2 separate regions of the Homo sapiens genome follow, and region 2 is linked to region 1. The links are contacts of gene promoters, found by promoter capture Hi-C in blood cells and fetal thymus (Javierre and others, 2016). All regions are on one chromosome and are shown on one strand. The core of a region is centred on a gene start or on the middle of the fragment in contact, and the rest is flanking DNA. Distances in the headings are between cores, read along the strand shown. Region 1 holds the start of AASS (aminoadipate-semialdehyde synthase). Region 2 overlaps CADPS2 (calcium dependent secretion activator 2).

Region 1 (6,592 bases), core at 3,931-6,430:
GTGGTCTTTTGTACAATTACACATATTAATATAAAAACAGCTAGTCATTTGCTTATAGCACAAATATTTTCTAATATTTAAATTATAATGAAATCCAGAAAGTCTCTTGATAGAGTTATCAAAATAAAATCTTTTGTACACGGAATATGGGACAAATGCTTTTGATTCTCTTTAATTAAAAAAATATTTGGGGGCTACTTAAGATATGCACGGCATGATGCACTTGGTAAAGATATAAAGAAGCAGTAATCCAATCCCTGCCCATGTTCAGGATTAGTTTTATCAAATTAAATGGTGCTGATCAATATCTGATAGTGAATTATTAATTATTGATTATATCCAAATATTAGAGTCAAAGTGGGACTGATAGAATGTAATCTAAAATCTAGTATTACAAATGAGAATAGTGAGGCCCATAGAAATAGGGGATTTTTTTCTGTTTTATAGAAAGCATTTTCCAAGCCACTATTATGTATTTTTATGACTTATCATAATGGATGTCACAGTAAGTCTGTTCTCGTTGGTATAACTTTTTAAATGTAACTCGATCAAGATTTTTCTCTCTGCTACTTTTCAGGCAATATTTATGCCTTAAAATGATGTGTTTGGCCAAGCACAGTGGCTTATGCCTATAATGCCAGCACTTTGGGAGGCCAGGGTGGGCAGATCACCTGAGGAGTTCGAGACCAGCCTAGGCAACATGCAAAACCCCATCTCTACTAAAAATACAAAAATTAACTGGGCGTGGTGGCGCATGCTGGTAGTCCCAGCTACTCGGGAGGCTGAAGCATGAAAATCACTTGAGCCCAGGAGGCGAAGTTTGCAGTAAGTGAAGATCATGCCATTACACTCCCACCTGGACAACAAAGTGAGACTGTCTCAAACAAACAAACAAACAAACAAACAAACAAATGATGTATTTAATTTTTGCAGTTTTTATAAGGGAACGGGGTAGATGAAGAGAGCTGAGATTTTCATAGAGCTTTTTACTCTTCCATCAAATAGCTAAAATTCTTTAAGTCTCTTCAACCCTTTCCATAGCACCAACCCAATCAGAATACTTTTTAAGCTTATAGATCACCTACCTAAGCAAAACAATGCACAAGCATTACAAGAGCTTAAGAATGAACTAAGCGGCTGGGTGCGGTGGCTCACACCTGTAATCCCAGCACTTTGGGAGGCTGAGGCAGGCGGATCACGAGGTCAGGAGGTCGAGACCGTCCTGGCTGACACGGTGAAACCCCGTCTCTACTAAAAATACAAAAAATTAGCCAGGGTCGGTGGCGGGCGCCTGTAGTCCCAGCTACTCGGGAGACTGAGGCTGGAGAATGGCGTGGAACCCGGGAGGCGGAGCTTGCAGTGAGCCGAGTTCGTACCACTGCACTCCAGCCTGGGCGACAGAGCGAGACTCAGTCTCAAAAAAAAAAAAAAAAAAAAAAAGAATGAACTAAGCATTGCACCTCTTAATTTCTGTTACTTCTTTTGGGATATGTATGAAGGATCACACATTCATTTTTGAAGAAATTAAGGCCAAATGTTCCAACTTTAATCCCCACAGTTAGGAACGTGCTCTTTGTCCATCTATTTTAGATATTTAAAATAATTTCACTACAGCATAATTCAATGACTCAAACCAAAACTATCAAATCACACGGGGGATTTCTGAATGACAAATTATTTGCAATAATCAGGCATATATTGTGATTAAATATTGAGAGACTAAGAATGAGGTAATGTAGTCTTTAGATGAAGAAAATAAGTTCAAGGATGAACAGCGCTAATTATTTATATTCACCCTTCCAAGTAACTAAAAAAAAAAAAAAAATACAAGTATATATTAAAATCCATGGTTTCCCAAGAAGCACTGGTGTCTGTAAATAAGTATGGCAGCTCTATGGCTATGAGTCTTGGCCTACACTAAGTATCCAAACCATAATATTTTTTGGAGAGGTTCAAAAGAGTTCCAGAATTAACACAGCACCAGATGATGGCCTAGAACTAATCCAAATCCCTCCCAATTTCAAGGCTTGCTAGAACTAGGCTTGGGCTTGCATTAACACTGGTCATACTTTGACTTCCTGTGCGTGGGTACATTCTTTTAATGCTTCCATGTTAAACCCTCTATAAAATACTTTACTGGATTAAGAAGAAAGTGGTAGACTTTGGGGGAGGAGGTCTATTAGTGTTAACTAATCTGGTCTGAGAATTTTCATATTTTCTCCAGCCCATCACCTACTCAAAGTCATCCATAAACATGACACATATTTCTCCTGGTCTCTAGCTTATAATTTTAGCTTCATTGAAATGGAATACAAAGTTAGTTCTAAATCGGAGTCTAGTCCAAAATGCTTATCTGCTTACTTGTCTGTCTCTTTGCTAAACTGCAAATGTGTATGAGTTGTGTTTTACTCATCTCTGTATTCCCAATGACTGGCACATGGGAAAACAGCAAGTGTTTTAAGAAAGAATGAATAAATGAAAAAGCAAATTCAATAAACATTATAAAGACCTATGCAGCAAGAAAACAAACAAACAAACAAACAGATAAAATAGACACATTAATAAGAGACTCACATCCCCCTAACCCTGCAAAAAAAAAAAAAAAAAAAAAAAAAAACTTGATTCTCTTCCAAGATCTCATAGATCAACAAATGTCGTGAAATATAGTACAGTATAGTGGGAAAACTTAGACATGGGAGCTGGGACACATAACTAGATGTAGGGTTCCTCCTCTTGACTTCAGTTTCCTTACCCAGACAAAAATATAATACTAAAGTCCCTTTCAGGCTCTGATATTCTGATTCTATTAAGCATAGTAGTAACTGGACACTGAGAATTACAAAAACATTAGAAATGTAGAACATAAATAGGCACTCTGACTTATGAATTTCTAGCTAAAGTACACCAAACAGGGAAACAAAATACCAAAAACACAATCAAGAAAGAGTGGACATTCACCTAAGCTACCTGCATTAATAGCATGGACCAGGAACCAAGAGCTTGCAACAGAAGATGGATACCTCAAAGGAATACTGGTTTCTCTCCTGGGTTCCTCAGCGGCCAAACTTACTCTGTGACCTTGGCTGGCAACTTAACCTGTCTGTGCATCATGCGCAAAATGAGAATCATATTAACCTCTACCTCTTAGGGCTCTTAAGACGTTTAATTGAGCTAATATGCATAAAGTGCTGAGCATTGCTGTGTGTCATAAACAATAAATTTTAAGAAAAGAAAAAGCCTCCAGGCTTGCCTACTCCTCAAAAGCGAGCACAACCACGCCGCTAACAGTAGACTCACATTTCTTTCCTCTGTCACACTGTAGTAAGACCTTCACGATGGCTCCATATTAATCCCCCACCCTTACATTATTTTGGAAAAAAAATAATTAGAGCCCAATAAGCCCTCTCTTCAACTTCAAACTTCAGGCATGCATGTTCAAGATAAATAAATTACCATTTTAATGTTGTATTTCATCAAATTTAAGACAATTTTTTTACACATTTTAGCATCAGTGAAATAGGGATGCATCTTACAATAGATGACACCTTAGATCAGATGAATGTGGTAATAATGTTTTGGGGTTATTTTCCATTCCAAATGTTTGTTTCCATGATTTCATGAATTGCATAGAATCTTTTGTAGCCTTCCCAAGAAAACTTACCACTGTTTGTAATGTTATTTCTATGAGAAAATTAATAAAAGAATATATGAAAAAAATGAAAATGTTTTGTTAAATGGTGGCTTCTTAAACACCAAAGATCATTTCCAAAATTCCGAACCAAGGTCTGTTAAACGACTAGTGAGAAAAAAAATTCAATGACAAATAAACCAAAGTTCTGATCACGCCATCATCAATAACAAGTGAAACTGATAACAAATATGATTATCTGAAGAGTGGGAAAATGATTCAGGTAAATTGGCTTCAATTTTTGTCCACCTAACTCATTTTGCAGAATGGCCACCAGGTTACACAGTCAAGTCATGTAGCCCTAGATTCACTCATCTTCATGGGAAAAAAAGAAGAGGGGAGTGCAGGGGACAAAACAGACAAACCCAGAAACACCAAAGTGCCATCAGTGTTTTGGGATTTTTTTTAATACAGTATTGGAAAGCCGCAGCTTCAGTCAAGGACCATTCCGTCCTGTGTATAACTACATCTCACAGCTGCACCTTCCCCACTGATAACCCACAACATCAAAAAATGTTAATCCTTGTTCAAGTTACTGAACTAATTCATTCTCTCTCGCGCTCGAGCGCTCTTTCTCTCTCTCTCTTCCGCTCCCCCCACCCCCATTCCCCTGAAATCAATGTCTGAAAAGCACATTTCTTCTTCTGAAGCTGTCAGGATAGACAGACATTCAGCCCCATTCAACCGAGGAGGGTGGGTAAACTGCTTCTCCCCGCGCCCCGTCCCGCGCGAGCGCTCACAATGGGCTGCATAGTCCCGCAGGGGCTGAAGAGTTCAGGAAACCCAGACTTGCAAGGCGCCCAACTTCCACCCATCTCCGATCCTTGCTGGAGAATGGGTCTGTGTCTCGGAGAGTGGGCAGCCCAAGATGGACAAGGAGAGAAGTTTGTGATCAGTTTGGCTAAGCTGGGCGTGGGGAGGGAAGGGGGAAAGAACCACCCCGAAATCTCCATCCACCGCCCCCTCAGCCAGCCGTCCCCTCTAAGCACGCCGTCCACAAATTAACAAGCCGTTGTTTCCTCAGCTTCATCAGTTCTTTATTCCCCAGCCACAGCACCACCACTGTCCGCCAAAAAAGAAAGAAAAGAAATCCGAATTGCAATCCCTCGCCTTTCTACTTAGAAATGCTGGAGCTGCGCTGACCGCTCTCCCTCCCTTCCTCGCAGTGAAACTCTCTGCGTTTCCGCTCTCCCTCCATTCCTCGCAGGGAGGCCCGAATGCTCGCCGCCTTCTCCCTCTCTCGGCCCGGCCGGGGTCGCCTCGCGGCGCCGGGACCCGAAGGCCAGGCTCGCGGGCCCCTCCCAGCGACAGCCCGAGCCCGGCCCGCTATCTCCACCGCATCTCACAGGCTGAGCCCACCCGCGCGTCTGCTCAGCTCTCCGCGGGGACCTCTCCTCTCCTCACCTCGTCCGCTCTGGGGCGCCGACTTGTCCCCCGCCGCCTCGAATCTTCCGAGTCGCTGCAGGGGAGGCTCCGAATTCCTAGAAGAAACTGGGATGGAAGGCCGGGAAGTAGGAGGTGTTTGCTCAACTTCTGAGGACGTCACGCCTCTGCCTCCCGTAGCCAATCAGCAGCCGCCCTGAGGGAACAACCTTCTCATCTGCCAATCGGCGGCGCTGCCAGTTGCTACGTCATGCCCGGCCCCTGCTCCTCCCCAAGATCCTTCTGTCTCTGATCTCTGATCTCTGACCTGCGTTCTTAGCTGGGACGTCGAGTTCTCCCAGGATAATTATCGACCAGGTTTGTAACTGTCCGTGGCAGAAGGCGGGCGGGGACGGAAAGCAACGAAAATAGTCTGGGCATTACGCTCTAAATAGAGGTGCACATCTCCTGGGGAAAAGTTGCGAGCGCCGGTACCTCACGTTTGTTTAGCTATAGACACTTTTCAAAGCATTTCACCGCCTTGTCACAACCCTGTGAAGCCAGATAACAGTTCTTACAACAGTTTTAGAAGCCAGCAAGCGGAGAATCTGAGAAATTAAAACTGAGTGTGTTCATGTGCATATGGCAATGTCCAATGTTATTGAAAAGTCCTAACTACCTAGGAGGCCTGGAGGGAGGGGGAAAACGTATTTCATAGACACTAGCCCCAGCACTAGGAACTGAAGAATCGTCTGAAGCCCAGCTGTGATTCCCCAAGGCGTCAACGGTCAGAAGTTAATCTTCCCTCCTGTTTTTACAACTTTCTCCACCACTTACTCTTCTTATACCTGCCATAGATGTATTTAGCTACTGAACTCCTATGTCAACAATCTATAGCCAGAACGTTCTTGAGACTCCACTCATATCTCCAATTGCAGAGAAAATTATTTATTTATTTATTTGTGGTAGACATGGGGTCTCGCTGTGTTGACCAGGACACTGGTCTGGAACTCCTAGCCTCAAGCTATCCTCCCACCTCGTCCTCCCAAAGCACTGGGATTACAGGTGTTAGCCACTGTGCCCAACCCCAAATTAGAATTTTATCTGTAAGTAGAGTTGGAATTTTCTTCTGTATCTTCAGCTTCACATTTCCAAAATCGGATCCCTTATCATTCTTGGAAAGTCTTCCAAAGGCTGTGTAGTGGTTCACACCTGTAATCTCAGCACTTTGGGAGACTGAGGCTGGAGAATCACTTGAGCCCAGGAGTTTAAGACTAACCTGGGCAACGTAGCAAGACCTGTGTCTACTAAAAATAAAAATAATAAAAATAAATAAAATTTTAAAAAGCCAGGTGTAGTGGCACATACCTGTGGTCCCAACTACTTAGGAGGCTAAGGTGGAAGGATCACTTGAGCCGCAGGATGTTGAGGCTGCAGTGAGCCATGATCATGCCACTGCACTGTAGTCTGGGTGACAGAGTAAGACCCTGTCTCAAAAAATAAAATAAAATAAAGCCTTCCCTTTTGTGCTCACCAGCTCTG
Region 2 (6,614 bases), core at 55-2,554, 390 kb after region 1:
TTTAATGGAATCATTTCACAGACTCATACATTCATAGGCATACAAATGAAAGAGGCATAAAAACACATTTGGAGTAAAAGAAATAAGTAAGGCATTTATTTCACTGAAAAAAGTATACCCATCCCTAATTTTACAACTATTATAAGCAGAAATCCTTCTCCTATTACACATAAAACTAGGGATAAAGACTAGAAATCTGTTACATGAACTTGTAGAGGAACAATACTAATTAATAGAAAAGAATAAAAGAGTTAAAGCCAGTCTGGTGGTGTCTCTGGATTTTTCTTAATGAGTAACAACCATTAAATGGAATGGGAGGAAAATCAGCCTTTGGAAGAAAATGACTTTTAAATATATTTTTCCTCCCTGTCTTTTGGATGGCACCATCTAAACAGCAGAATTGAAAAGAAACATAAGATTTATTCAGCTTCAATTAAGAAGGTATGTTATTTTTCCACAGGAAAATAAAATGTGGATCCCGCTTGAAGATCCACGCCAAAATTACATTCCTGGGTATGAGGTTTGATTCAATTGCTGGCACATTTATATCTGCTTTTCAGGGAGATACATAAATAATTGGAAAGTTAACAAGAATTGCACTATAATGTTAATAGATTAGAATCCAAATAATTCTTTAACTCTTCAGAGGTTTTTATTTTTTATTTCCTTCCTTTGATCTACAATTAGAAAACTGGCATGAAAAACTTACTTTAGACTCTATAAGACATATTTTGGAATTAGTGCTATTTGACTCACTTAATATTTACTTTGGGCAGTTTAGAACAGAAGATATCCTCATACTTAATACAAAAATAATGCAGAAGATATTATAAAAGGTAAAGATAAATTACCATGGTAGTTCCTACAAGACAGACTTTCAGACAGATGAACACAGGTGAGTAAATGATCCTTAGTAATCTAAAAATAAAATATATTTGTGAACTCTAAAAAGCACAAAATTCTAACAAATTTCAATATAGTTTTCAACAATAAGCTTTGAAATAAGAAAAGGTTTCCACTTAGGCTTAAGTTAGCTTTTTTTTTTTTTTTTCCCACTAGCTTTCAAGTTAATTAAGCTTCACTCTATCTGAAAGTAAAAACAAATTTTAAAAAGTGAGTAAAATGAGACTATGTTACATTAGGAAATATTCTATGCCATAGTATACTCTACTAATGTTGTTAAAATAACTATCCCCACTGCATTTTATCACCATCATTTTCCTTATAACAACTTACCTTTCAAAAGATAAATTTTCTATATTCTAAGTATTGTGCTTTATGCTTTACATATCTCAGTTAATATAACAATCTTATAAGGTTTCAATTATCACTACAGACAACAGTAAGTTATAACCAACTTCTGATACTTTTAATACTACAAAAGACTGTGCTAAAAACTACACATAACTATTAATACACAATATTCATTAAATATTTATACTTTCTGACTTTGCTACAAGATTCACTTTAGCATTCTATTTAATTTTGAAGCAATGGCTTCCAGCTACCATATATATAAAATTGTCTTCAAGTAAGCTTTTTACCTCTTTTATACGGAGGAGATGGTCTTGATCTCAGAACAACAGGATCAAGACCATTCCTTGTATTCTGGGGAGAGGGACCTCCTGTGCTAGATGCTGGATTGATTGTGAATGGGAAAGTGTTCACATGTATAGAATGCCATCCCTGGTGGGCGTAAGATAGGAATCTTCACTGAGAAAAAACCAACAACAACTAAGAGTTAAGTAGTAGGGAAGCCTCACTGAGGTGCCATTTAAAGTCAGCAATCTTGAGAGAGTACAGTGTCACACTGCAGTAGAGAAACAGCTCAGAATCCATCAGTGACAGCAAGCTGTACTGGTAGTTTATTATATTCTTTGTGATTACTTTCTCATTTGTTGTCCTTTAGCATAAAGACTTTCAGAAGTTCTACACTGCTTTAACTGCAGAGAGCGTCAAAGAAAAGAGTGTCCACAATGGAAGAGAAAGAAGAAGAGGTGAAGTTAGGGTATGTCTGAGGTCAAGCACAGTATTGTGGAAAGGATGTGAGAATCCCCCCAGGAGGGGAACCCTCAGAATTCAAGTTCCAGCCTCACAGTCTAGTCATCTACACCTGCAAGATTCTCCTTCCTAAAACCAGAGGTTTGAAGTTCTTCTCTTAAGGGCAACAGTATTCTCTTTTAGTTGTTCCCACTAACTCTTAAGAATGGGGCAACAAAATTACCTACTTATTAAAAAGAGAATGAGTAGAGTCCCTATACTAATATACTTACAGATAAGAATTCTAAGAATTCTAAAACTGGTCTCAGTTGAGTCTCAATCAGTTTTTTCTAATTGTAAATGGAGATAACGATTGGTTTCCTAATTGCTTCAAAGAATTATCCAGAGGATCAAATGACCCAATATATGTATTATCCCTTGTAATAAGTATAAAGATACTACAGAGATGTTTTAAAAAATACTGTTAGCAGGCTGGGCACGGTGGCTCACTCCTGTTGTCCCAGCACTTTGGGAGGCTGAGGTAGGCAGATCACAAGGTCAGGAGTTCAAGACCAGCCTGGCCAATATGGTGAAACCCCATCTCTACTAAAAATACAAAAATTAGCTGGGTGTGGTGACAGGTGCCTGTAATCCCAGCTGCTCAGGAGGTTGAGGCAGGAGAATTGCTTGAGCCCAGGAGGCGGAGGTTGCAGTGAGCCAAGATCGTGCCATTGCACTCCAGCCTGGGTGACAGAGCAAGACTCCGTCTCAAAAAAAAAAAAAACAAAACAAACAAACAAACAAAATACTGTTAGCCTGTTAGCATTATCTTGACATCTAGGCTATGCCCCGACATTGCAAAAAGTTAGATTTGGGAAATTCTATCAATTGGCTGATTTTTCTACATAATACAACAAATGATTTATCTCAAATTGTTCCTTTTTGAGGAGGAGATAAAAATGACCATTCAACTAACTACTCTGACTTATATGGACACAGTTGCACAATCACGGGCAAAAAAATTACCTTAAGTCTTCAGGCTCATCTATTTATCTATTGCTAATGTAGGTAACTTTCCTAAGAAACACATTTTCTACAATATTCCAAACATATTAATAAGCTAATTGATAACTTAATTTTTAAAGAGTTGGAAATAAAGTATTTCAAATTGCACATATTCTAATTCAGGGGTTTTCAAATGTTAATAAGCAACAAAAATCTTACATGGACAGCTTGTGAATATACACACTGCCGCACTCCGACCTCTCCCCACCCCCACCCCCCTACCCCGCCAACCCCACAACCTCCCAGAGTTCCAGATCGACAGATCAGGCCTGAGAATTTGCATGTTCAAGTTCTCAGGTGATGCTGACGCTGCTGGCCTGGTATCCAGTATCCACACTTTTGAGAACTGCTGTTTTAATCTGTACCTATTCTGAAACTTAAAAAAATGAAAAGAATAAAAGCCAACCATCTCTGTATATTTAAAAGGTATTTTATCTAAAAGTATACAGTTATATTTCCCGAGAGTACGATAAACAATTTTAATGGAAATAAACCAAAATAACATTTTTCTTGTTTGCTTTTTAAATTTGATCATAGTGCCCCCAAGTGGATAAAAACATTACTTACAAAAAAGGAACACTAAACATTTCTCACTGGGATAGGGTTATGCGAATTTATCTTTTTATTTGTCAGAATGCCCAACCTAGTGCTTTGCCCATAACATACTCAGTAACAGGGTTAATACATAAATGCTCCGCACCCCCACCCCCATTTTTAGAAAGGCCTATCACTCTTGCCCTCTAGAGATGTGGGGCTAAGTAACCCTCAAATCTCTTTTAGCTCTTAAATTCCTACATATCTAATATGTAGGATACTGGCAGTTGTCTATTTGTGCCAGATGCTAGAGAAATTCCTTGAAAGAAAATCAATTTTTCTTTCTAGATAAAACCAATAATATCTTTATTAATATGTAGAAATTATTAATATAAAGCAGTAGTTAAAAAAATAGCCTGGAGCTTAAAGGCTTGATAACGACAAATCTCTTTAACAATTAATAATTGTCTTACCTGAATGTATGTAACTCTCTACCTAGCTCCCTGCCACCAGCTAGCATTTTTATATCCATTTCTTTATCATTCTTTTAATTTCAGAAAATACTCTTCTATTTTAAATGTACACCCATGGTCTTAAATTTTTGTAACCACTCAAATCAACAAACTCACACTGCTTAACGGAAGGACAGAAATTCAAAGAATAGAAGCACACCTTTTGGTGGCACCAATATAATGGGGCTAATGAATGCATTTACCTCTTTGTGTTTCCCTTAGCTTCCTTAAGCACATGTATTTCTCATATGAAATATCCAGAAGTCTCATGTTATTTTATGCCAATTAACAAATTGCTAACATGTCATGTTAATAAAAAAAGCAATTGACCTAAGTAGAAGAGCTAATTACATGGAGTAAGATAATTAAACGATTCTCAATATGTAATCAAAAATTATGGCTGGAAGTGTTTCACAATGTTGTCTTTTTGTTTTCAAGTATCTGCCTATCTGCAAAATTCTAATCAGTGTATCCATATGCATAAAAGACAGATCCAGTGCAGATGTTAATTTGTTGCATGATAGAAATCAGGTGTTCAATTACAAATAATGGGGTGTATGAGAGAACGTCCAAGATTTCCATTTAGCCGAACGCATGCATCTCTGCTGGCAAATGATTGCAAAGCATTCATATTGGAATTAGCTACTAACATGCACCCAAGGCACATCACATTCAACTCCTTTATTATCCTCATTATATAATATTCACATCTCCAGCTCTGTGTATTACCTAATTTGCCAATGATTTAGGAGTCTGAACATTTGCTGATCTGAATTCTATTTATTGCACCTGAATTCTTTTAAAAGCGTGATTCTGATTTTTATCTAAACTCTAGACAACTTTAATATGAGGGATTTTGTTTCCTAATCTTACATTTAAACAATCAAAATCATTTGCTTTTGTAGTAAGGTAAATTCCTTGAACTGATATGATCAGTTCAAAATAGGCTAAGCTTTTAACATATCAAGACTATTTCAACAATGCCTCCCAACATAGTCTCTAAGTGATATTTCAGCAAAGTAACTACACAGAGGAGAGCAAATATATTTACTAGGCTGAAAGATATTATGCAGATTTGTTTTTCATATAATTCACTACAAAGTCACAGGCTTAAGGCATAGTTATAAATTGAGATATTCACCATGCCAAACTTACAAACTGATACAATTCTGAGATGAGAAATAAATGTCAAACTGATGATGAATTTTATGTCCTAACTCAAGACCCTAATATTTAGAGTTTGTAAATTATTGAGTAAATATAGGCCAGGCCTCAGATAGCCACAGAAGAGATAATTGATTTGATGGCAGATTAACAGTAATGTACATCAATGGAAATGTCATTATTTTTAATAAATGACATGAAGAAAGATTTAAACAGGAAAAAAGTGCATTTTTAATTCCTTTCATTCTCTTATTTCAATGAAATCAATTTCAAAATATGTGAATATCCAAGGTTCCTTAGCCACTAAGAAAAGAAGCAAATACAGTTTCTGAGTATGTGGCAATTAGCAGAACCTCTAAATTATTCAAAAGTAGTAATGGGGAGGGATGTTTCTATAAACCAAAAAATAAAAAATGGTGACTCATGGACCAAATCTGGCTTGCCAATGTGCTTTGAAAGCTGAGCATTTAAAAATATATTTTGAAATCCCTTTTGCAGGACATGTTCTCCTGATTTCTATAATCCTGATACTTCCAGTCCTCATGACTTTTAACCTAATCACTTTACACAAGTATTTGAGTTGCCTGGCCTCTGGTGGTACTTGAGTATCGTGAACTGACAGTGATCACTTAAAGAGAAAAGTATTTTGTATTAGTAGGTGGTGTTGCCTAGCAGTTTAGAGAATAAGCTCTGGAATCAGACAAGTGAGTTCAAATCATGGTCACTTATTAGCTATATGGCTTTGGGCAAATTTCTTAACCTCCTTATGACTCAGTGATCTTGTTTGTAAGTTGGTATCATCATACCTATCACATAGTGTTGTAAGAACTAAATAAGAATATTATTTAATGTGATAGATTCTTCAAATGTATTTAATCTACTATATCTGGATGTCAGAGATGTAAGAAGTCATATGTTTGGATCAGCTTGCTAATTAGAGTAGTAGCTGAGTACTCTAAAAAGGTAATAGTATACCAGATAATAAATATGTTTTATTTTTATAAAGTCTGTTAAAGAACCTTTCCAGTATGTTCACAAGACTTTTACAAAACAGGCATAATTACCAGAATTATCCTATTGATATTGACCACACATTCCTGTAAGAACTAGTAGAGAATATTGCTGTATCATTGATGAAAACAAATATATATTTGGATTTTTGATAATAACTCATGCAAATAGATCTTGTTTTAAAGCCTAATGGCAAGAGTTGTAGATTGATGGGATGATATACTGAGCCCCACATCAGTGAAAGTGACTTGTGTCTCTTGGGACCTTTTAAAACTTTTACAAAAATTCCACTGCGAGTCTTACTCTCACGTTTTCCAATAATACTTTATCAAGCATTTGATAAAGTGA

What was found. Contacts are between HindIII fragments. The CHiCAGO score rates a contact against its expected background, and 5 or more counts as called.
Region 2: a fragment that was not itself captured here is called in contact with the fragment with the promoter of AASS in region 1 in 3 of 17 cell types (M0 macrophages, endothelial precursors and M2 macrophages); the score reaches 6.2 in M0 macrophages.

Annotation. Positions count from the first base shown.
Region 1 is chr7:122,139,069-122,145,660 of GRCh38, forward strand. AASS (aminoadipate-semialdehyde synthase) reads right to left here and starts at 5,181. Exons shown (of 24, transcript NM_005763.4): 1 at 5,093-5,181. LOC102724527 (a long non-coding RNA gene) reads left to right here and starts at 5,346. Exons shown (of 6, transcript XR_007060500.1): 1 at 5,346-5,428. RefSeq lists enhancers at 4,005-4,510, 5,512-5,561 and a silencer at 4,812-5,011. The HindIII fragment of the contact is 8,294 bases long and covers 1,068-6,592 here.
Region 2 is chr7:122,529,281-122,535,894 of GRCh38, forward strand. The region is part of intron 8 of CADPS2 (calcium dependent secretion activator 2); the gene reads right to left. It overlaps LOC105375481 (a long non-coding RNA gene), which reads left to right. Exons shown (of 4, transcript XR_001745347.2): 2 at 1,910-2,008. Among named protein-coding and RNA genes, the nearest start is that of RNF133, 170 kb to the right of the region's middle. The HindIII fragment of the contact is 460 bases long and covers 1,075-1,534 here.